3 separate regions of the Homo sapiens genome follow, and all the other regions are linked to region 3. The links are contacts of gene promoters, found by promoter capture Hi-C in blood cells and fetal thymus (Javierre and others, 2016). All regions are on one chromosome and are shown on one strand. The core of a region is centred on a gene start or on the middle of the fragment in contact, and the rest is flanking DNA. Distances in the headings are between cores, read along the strand shown. Region 1 holds the start of TEX261 (testis expressed 261). Region 2 overlaps VAX2 (ventral anterior homeobox 2). Region 3 holds the start of ADD2 (adducin 2).

The links. The method cuts DNA at HindIII sites, captures the fragments that hold promoters and counts their contacts. A CHiCAGO score of 5 or more calls a contact.
Region 1: the fragment with the promoter of TEX261 here is called in contact with the fragment with the promoter of ADD2 in region 3 in 3 of 17 cell types (monocytes, erythroblasts and M0 macrophages); the score reaches 6.5 in monocytes.
Region 2: a fragment that was not itself captured here is called in contact with the fragment with the promoter of ADD2 in region 3 in 4 of 17 cell types (M2 macrophages, M0 macrophages, M1 macrophages and 1 more); the score reaches 8.9 in M2 macrophages.

The regions. Positions count from the first base shown.
Region 1 is chr2:70,993,582-70,996,281 of GRCh38, forward strand. TEX261 (testis expressed 261) reads right to left here and starts at 1,292. Exons shown (of 6, transcript NM_144582.3): 1 at 1,107-1,292; 2 at 115-194. The coding sequence starts at 1,176. RefSeq lists silencers at 864-953, 984-1,513 and an enhancer at 2,054-2,103. The HindIII fragment of the contact is 23,402 bases long and covers 1-2,700 here.
Region 2 is chr2:70,923,165-70,925,864 of GRCh38, forward strand. The region is part of intron 2 of VAX2 (ventral anterior homeobox 2); the gene reads left to right. Among named protein-coding and RNA genes, the nearest start is that of ATP6V1B1, 11 kb to the right of the region's middle. The HindIII fragment of the contact is 8,926 bases long and covers 1-2,700 here.
Region 3 is chr2:70,766,851-70,769,550 of GRCh38, forward strand. It overlaps ADD2 (adducin 2), which reads right to left and starts at 1,350. Exons shown (of 16, transcript NM_001617.4): 1 at 1,036-1,350. RefSeq lists enhancers at 485-1,050, 1,051-1,616, 2,026-2,590. The HindIII fragment of the contact is 9,920 bases long and covers 1-2,700 here.

The DNA of each region.
Region 1 (2,700 bases), core at 42-2,541, 230 kb after region 3:
CTCAGGAAACAGCAGAGACACAGGCCTCATCATCCATGCCAAACTCTCCCCACTTCCTGCTTTTGAGGCAGGGCAAAAGAGTGAGGAGGACTCCTGGAGAAAGATGCCACTTACCCAGATCATGTATTTTATGATCCTGCTGGTGGCCACTGTGTATTCTTCTATCAGTTCTGCCAGGTAATAGAGTCCAGCCGCTGCAGGGTGGGAGGCAGGGAGACTATCAGCCAGGGTCACTCCCACCATCCTGGTCACCCCTCTCTCTGCAGCCCAGTCCCCATCCACCCTTCATGGACCCCAGAAGGTCAAGAACAAACCAAACATCCCATGTGTTGCCCTTCCAAGTCTGGAGAAGTAAAACTTTCTTAGGGCAACTAAGGACAAATCTCATAAAAATCAACGAAAGTCTGCATTTGATGCCACAGTACAATGATAACCTCTGGCTCAGAAAACGGAATTTCACGTATTCAATAAACACCTGCTGGGCACTTGGCATGAGCCAGGTCCCTGGGCTGAGAATACAGCTGAAAAAGACAGACAAGGGTCCTTCCCTGACCCAGCTTGGGAAAGGGAAGGGGAACAGTAGGGAGAGACAGACGAGTTTAGTGTGAGAAATGCTACTTTAGGGAAAGGACAGGGCACTGCTGGACCATCAACCCCTGTGGACTTCCCGGAAAAGATGACATCTCAACTGAGGCCGAATGGGAACCAGCCAGAGGAGAAGTGTCAAAGGTGGAGAGAGCAGGGAGCATGAAGGGCCAGAGGCGCAAAGGCGGCGGTAGGCGTTGGGGAAAAGTTCCGCGCGGCAGGCCCGCGAAGAGTGGGAGCCGCAGCGGTTAGCGGTCCGCAGACGCGGGGGCGGCACTCGAGTCACCCTTTCTCGGGCAGTGCCGGAGCGGACTCTGTGACACCTGGAAGGAGCCACGGTCAGGCCGGGCTGCCAGGCTCGACAGGAGGGGCAGGATCAGGCGGGAAGGGGTTGGGGCGGCGAAGGCCGGGAGCGCCGGGCAGTGGTCCCCCGAGTGGCTCCGAAACCCCCGCGATGCGACCCCCAACGAGCACCGATGCCGGGGCGGGAGCCCGCGCGGGCCGGGGTCGTGCAGTCTCACCGACAGCCAGCGTGATGAAGGCCACCTGGATGAAGAGCGACAGCCAGCTCAGCAGGTACATGAACCACATGGCGCCCCCACCCGCCCGCTCCCCGGCCACCGGGACGGGCCTGCGCGCTTCGGCTCCGGCGACACACAGCCGCCACCGCCGCCGCCGCCGCCGCGTCCCCGCCCCGCGGACGACAGGACGACGGTGCGCCGCCGCCGAGAGGAGCCCGGCCCTAGCGCTGCCCGGGGCCAGGCTCGCGCTAGCGCCGCCCGCCGGAGAGGAGGGCCAACCGCCGCTGCCCCGCCAGGATCCCCCGCTCCACTGAGGGGAATGAATGCAGACCGCTGCAGCCAGAGGGAGGCGGGACGGTGCCCAGGGGCGGAGACGACCAAGCGCCCATACTGGGGCTCGGAGTGCAGCCTCCAGTCCCTCCCTGTGCACTCCCGTACCAGCCTGGAGGTGGTCCAGGGCCGGACAGGGCCGCCCGACCGCGCCCCAGCAACCTCCCCAGAACCTGCCTCCCGGCAGGTTGCGGACAAGTCTGTCTCTTGCTATCGCAGGTGATAGGGACAAAATTATTGAATTCCTAATATGTGCCACGCTCTGTGATAAAGGCGAGGTGTGTTCTTGTCGGAAATTTGAGCAGATAATGTAAATCATTTTATAGACGGGGAAGCCGGGGCCAAAGGAAGTTGCCCTGGGTCATGCACCTAGGAAGCGGCACAATCAGGAGTTGGGGTGATTTTAATCGGTCATCCTCCGGCCTAATTCCCCTCTAGGCTGTTCTTTTGGGGTACATTCTGCACCTTTGTATCGCCTGCACCTCACCCCTTGCCGGGCACGCAGGGCGTCCGCTAGGCGCTGGATGCATTTACTACACCTCTGGGAGGGTTCCTGAGGGGCACCTGGAACCGGTTAGTCCTTGTCAACAAGTCTCCCATCTAGTGGCGGAGACAGGCATGCAAAATAAAGTATGTAGAACAAGAGTCTAGTAGGCTTATTTCAGAATCATATTTTTCCTGCATAAAAATACGTATTCCTAAAAAAAACAATTACCGTATGATTTAGCAATTCTACTTCTGGGTATATACCCAAAAGAACTGAGAAAGCAGAGACATTTGTATACCAATATTCATAGCATTATTCACAATGGTCAGAAGAGGGAAGCAACCCAAATGTCCATCGGTTGACGAAAAGATAGACATAAAGTGCTATAAACATACAATGGAATATTATCTAGCCTTAAAATGAAGTGAAATTCTGACACATGCTACAACATCAATGAACCTTGAAGGCATGATGCTAAGTGAAATAAGCCAAATAGGGAAGGACACACATTGTATGATTCCCCTCATATGAGGTACCCAGAGTAGTCAAAATCATGGGCAGAAAGTTAAATGGTGCTTGCCAGGGTCTGGGGGACAAAGAATGGGGAGTTACTTTTTAATGGATACAGGGTTTCAGTTTGGGAAGATGGATGGTGCTGATGGCATCACAACAGTGTGAATGTGCTTAATGTCACTGAATTGTATACAGTGTTACAGAATTGTAAAATGGTTAAAACGGTCAATTTTATGTTATGCATAGCTTCCCCCTCCCCCCAAC
Region 2 (2,700 bases), core at 141-2,640, 160 kb after region 3:
ACATAGTAGGCCCTCAGCAAGTCCTCCGCACTGTTCTCACTACAACCCTCCTTCCTCTGTCCCCAGTCCTAGGGTTGACAGATAGTAAAAGTAATGGACAGCTGATGCTTATTGAGCGCTTCCCATGCACCAGGTCCTGTTCCAAGGGTGTGACATAGTCTAACTAGTTTAGTCCTCACCACAACCTTATGGGATACGTGTGAGATTTTTCTTCCAACACCAGGTGTATGGTATGTTCCAACCACCAGCAGGCAGTGCTCCAATTCTCCAGCATCACTGAGTATATTCAACAGTTCAATACTGACACTAATTCCCAGAGCTAGCACAGACCCTACAAGTTAAGGGCTCTGTCCCACAAGACAGTGCCACAGCAGACTCAAGTTCCAGGAGCCACCTGTGCTTCTGAATGGACTGGCCTAAAACCGGGGGCTCCCACATCGCCCTCTGCAGGTTTGACAATTCACTAGAATGACGCACACAACTCAGGAAACACCTCCCCTACACTTGCTGGTTTATTATAAATGACACGAGTGAGGAAGAGCCAGATGGAAGAGACACAAAGGGCAAGGTAAGGGGGAGGTGCGTGGAGCTCCCATGCCGTTTCCAGTGCCCCCATTCCCAGCACTTCCACGTGTTCGCCAACCAGAAGTTCTCCTGGTCTCCTTGTTCAAGACTAAATCCAGGCCGGCCTGGCACAGTGGCTCACGCCTGCAATCCCAGCACTTTGGGAGGCCAAGGAGGGAGGATTGCTCAGGAGTCCAGGAGTTCAAGACCAGCCTTGGCAGCAGAGGGAGACCTTATCTCTAAAAAAAGTTTTTTAAAACATTTTTTACAGTTTACACTGTAAACTGCAGGGTGTGGTGGCACACACCTGTAGTCCCAGCTACTTGGGAGGCTGAGGTGGGAGGATTGTTTGAGCCCAGGAGGTCAAGGCTACAGTGAGCCATGTTAGCTTCACTGCACTCCAGCCTGGATGACAGAGCAAGACTCTATCTCAAAAACAAACAAAAAAAGACTATAATCCAATCTCCATTCCCCTCCCCTCCCTAGAAGGAAAGAATGGGGGCGGCTGAAAGTTTCTACCCTCTAATCACAAGTATGGTCTTTCTAGAACCAGCCCCAGTCCTGAAACTACCTAGAGATCCACCCTGAATCACCTCATTAGCATACAACAGTAAGTCTTATTTATTTATTTATTTATTTATGTTTACTGTAGAGACGGGGTCTCGCTTTGTTTCCTAGGCTGGCCTGGAACTCCTGGTCTCAAGTAATCCTCCCTCCTCGGCCTTCCAAAGTGCTGGGATTATAGGTGTGAGCCACCATGCCCAGCCAATAAGAGTATATTGTTTCCACTTTAAATAGAAGGAAACTGAGGCATAGAAAAGTTAAATAGATAACTTGCTCAAGACTTGCAGCGGGTGCATTCATGGGTAATAGTACCCATGAAGATGGCTTTATGGGTACTATTATCCCCATTTAAGCAAACTGAGCCTCAGAGAGGTTAACTAACTTGTAGCTAGAATTCTGTGGCATTCTCAGTATGTTCACCCATAATTTTGTTCAAAAATATTATTGAATACCTACTATATAGCAGGTACTCTTCTAGGCACTTGGGCTTTGGCTTAGAACAAAACAGACCAGGCATCTGCCCTCGTGCAGCTAAGATCCACAGAGACAAAGACAAACCGCATTTCCAGGAGTGATGAGTGTTGTGAGGGAGCTCAAATGGGGTCATAGGAGAGAGACTAAAAGGAAGTGTTTTACTGGGGTGTTCAGGGAAGGCCTCTTTGAGAAGATGACGTTGAGCTTAGGCCTGAGTGGCAAGGGAGAAACAGCCAGATGAGGAGCCAGAAGGAGACGTCAAGGCAGACGGTAACTATGAAGACGTGAGGGGCAGGAATTGGCATAGAATGTTCTAGAAGTATCAGAAGGCCAGAGTGGCTGGAGCTACAGGGTAATTGGGTAAGTAGGTAGGGGAGGATCATGCGATGCTTAGAGACTATGGTAATACATTGAAGAGAAAGTGACAGGAGATGATTGGCATTTTACAGAGGTTCTCTGGCTGCCACTTGGGGAAGGGACCCACAGGGGAAAGGAGTGGACAGGTGTGGACAGGTAGGAACTACTGACATGGGTCCTGAACAGAGCAGTGGTGGAGGAGAGAAGCGTACTAATGTGAGAGGCACTCTAATTTAGTGCTGGAACATATTAGGACTTGCTCATGGATTATACGCCCAGGGCAAGGGAAAGGAAGTGGTTTGGGTAGAACAACTGGGAGAATGGTGACACCATATAATGAGTTGAGAAACTGGGGGAGAAGCAAGATGGTGGGAGCATAATCAAGAATTTTGTTTTGGATCAGTTAAGTTTGAGATCCCAGCGGAGATGTCAAGAAAGCATGTCAGATTTTGGGGGGAGGGCTGGTTTTTCTCTGGTTTAAGTTATCTGAGAGTCTCTGTCAGAGCTCTTTTGGGGGAAAAGATAAGAAATTCCTTCAAGTGCCCTCAGATAATGGATGGACTCCCCAGGGATTAAAAACAGAAGCCATAGCCTTGTTGAAATTCAATAACAGGAACCATGGTGTAGCCAGGAATTGGAAGAGACTGGAAGCCAAAGGCTCTTTTGGGCCCGAGGGATTCAGCACCAGCTACTCACAGAACTTCCTCCCAGTGCTCTGCTGAGTATGTGCTCCAACTGCTC
Region 3 (2,700 bases), core at 100-2,599:
AGTGGGTGTAAGGAAACAGATGGGTATTAATCATGTGTCAGAGATAAATGACAGTTTTTTAAAGAATTTGATAGGGTGTGGGCTGGAGCTTGCTTTTTTATTTTCTATTTCTATTTCCTATTTTCTATTTTTAGTTTTGGGCAAGAGATGGAGATTAGGGGTGAGAAAAGGAAGGAAGAGAAAAGGCAAGACAATAGGCCAGACCCGAGAGCCTGATCTGCATCCTAAAGCAGTCTGCCCCTCCCTCCCTTCCCCCCAACACCAGGTAGGCTGTGGTGTGATTTAAAAATAAGCAGACACCGACTCCCGCCTCCGGGACCGGGGATGGCCTCCGCCCCGGCTGCAGAAAGGGAGGGGAGGCAGGGAGAGGAGAGGGAAGATGGAAGAAACAGACTGGCAAGACCCCCTCGGGTACAGTGGGATTTTTCCCTCCAAAGTGGTGGAGCCGCATAAAATCAAAACCCACGAGGCCCGCTCACGTGCCGGTTGCCCCGATCTCAATGTAGGCGGCTGCCGACGCCGCACCTGCTCGGCCGGCCACTGCGGCTGAGCGCCGCGCAGCCAGCGATCGCGAGGCCCCGGGGGACGCGCCCAGCCCCGCCAAGCCCGCCTCGCACCGCTACCCCGGAGGGCGGCGGCCGAGCGGGAAGGAAAGAGAGGGGAGGGGAGGGAGGGGAGGGGAGGAGCGGCCCCGCCCGGCTAGGCGAGGCGAGGCTTGCCGCCCCTCCATTCGGACCCAAAAGAAAGCCCCACCTGTCAGGCGTTACGCTCCGGGCGAGGGTCCCACCATCCCCAAGCAGGGGCCAGTGCTTGCAGCCCCGATTTCCTAAGAGCCTCGGATGCTACATCATCACCAGAAACCTTTAGGCGCAAAACACACCGCTGCCGGCCAGGGCTGCAGCACCGACGCGCTCGGCAACAGACGCGCCCCACCTGGGCCAAGCGGCTCCCGCCCGGCCGAGGGATGCCAGGGTCTCCGCGCCAGGAGACCAGCGACCCCAGGCAGCCCACCAGGCCCGCTCCCCAGACCCTTACCTCCTGCGCGGCATCTTAGCTATCTCCGGTCGGCCACTGCGGGTTGGTTTTGTTATTTTATGGGTTTGGGGGGTGGGGTGCGCTTAAAAAATCCACCCAGCTAATCTGCAGGGCAGCGTTTTCTGCCCATGCTGCAGCCCGCGCTCGTCAGAGCTGCTGGGAGATCCCCCAGCAGTGCAGCGGCTCCGCGGCGGCGGGGATGACTGGCCACCGACGCCGCAGTTCCTTGACAAAAGGCTCGGGTTCCCGCTAGTCCCTCACAGCCCTGCCGTCAGAATTAAAGCCATTTCCCGCACGAGGCTGGGAGGAAATGAGAGCTCTCCTGGCCCTGCGCGCTGACAAAAGGCCGCTGCGCGGTGCCCACAGCGCCCCCTCCAGCAGGCCGCGCCGGCCGCCCGAGGGCCGCGGTGCTGCAGTGCCCCCGCCCGCAGCGCCCCCCACCGCCCCGCAGCGGCCTCGCCCCGCAGCACCCCCACTACCGCCCCGCAGCGCCCCCCTCCTCCCCGCAGCGCCCCCGCCCGCGCCGCCGCAGACCCCCCTAGCCAGGCTTCCAGCCCCCTTCCACCCCCGCCCCGCACCACTCACTACCCGGGATGGCCAGAGCTAAGCAGGGGAGTCTGTTACTAGGGAGAAAATCTGAAACAGAGCTCCCTTGGGGGAATGTATTCTCCCTGGAAGGAAGAAAGCAAAAGTCTTAGACTTGGAATATTTCTTTTCGTCTGGAAAGGACAGCTAGCCTTCGGAAGATAATTCTATTAGTGATTTTAATAGCAATTGTTTGACTGAATTCCAAACCAAAATTCTCCCTGTCCTGATTCTCACTCCTTTTCAACCAGGACAACATTTTTGTTGTGGCCCTGCCCTTGGGGGCTGTGGACCCAACGCTCTCCAACTCTCACTACATTCTCCTCTCACTCCTTTCCTTCCTCAGGTCTCCCGCCCCAGAAGGAACAGGTGTGTAGTGAGTGGGGAACTGGATAGGGAACCAGAATACTTCGGTTGCCGTCTCAGAGCTGCTCTTAACTAGCTGTGAGACCTTAATCAACCCACTTAACCTCTCTGGGCCTCGTTGTCTTCCTCTGTAAAATGACAGTGTACCTAAGGCACCTCCCATTTCCAATACTTTCAAGGCCTGGCCCTCAGAGAGTAGGGGTGTTAAGAGATAGCTCTGGACTTTTCACCCCCATAATCTCCACCAGTCCCCAAAACTCCCCTCAATCAACATCCTCTCCAAGGGCTTTTGAAAATGTGCTTGTGAAAATGTACAGCTTCCAGAAAAGCCTCTGGCCACTGATCTGAAACCTGATCATGGCCCCTCTGCCCTTCCAGGTTCTGGGGCACCACAGCCCTCAGACACCCCCACAAAAGTCACTGGCCCCCACCACAGTGCTGCTGTGGAACCAGAATCTCTGGAGGTAGGCTCAGGATTGGTAATTTTAACAAGCAGCCCTAGTGATTCCTTTGCACACTAACACTTTAGAAACACCACTCTGAGAGCTACTACTGATTTAGAAAAGAAAATGCTAACGACAACCCTAGATGCCAGGATAAACTTGTCTTTCTGCTTCAGCCCCCCTTCCAAGAAACATACATGCATACCTGGTCCCTGCACCCTCCTTCCACACTCAGAGCTTCTCACTCATTCTCATTCAGAATCACCGAGTC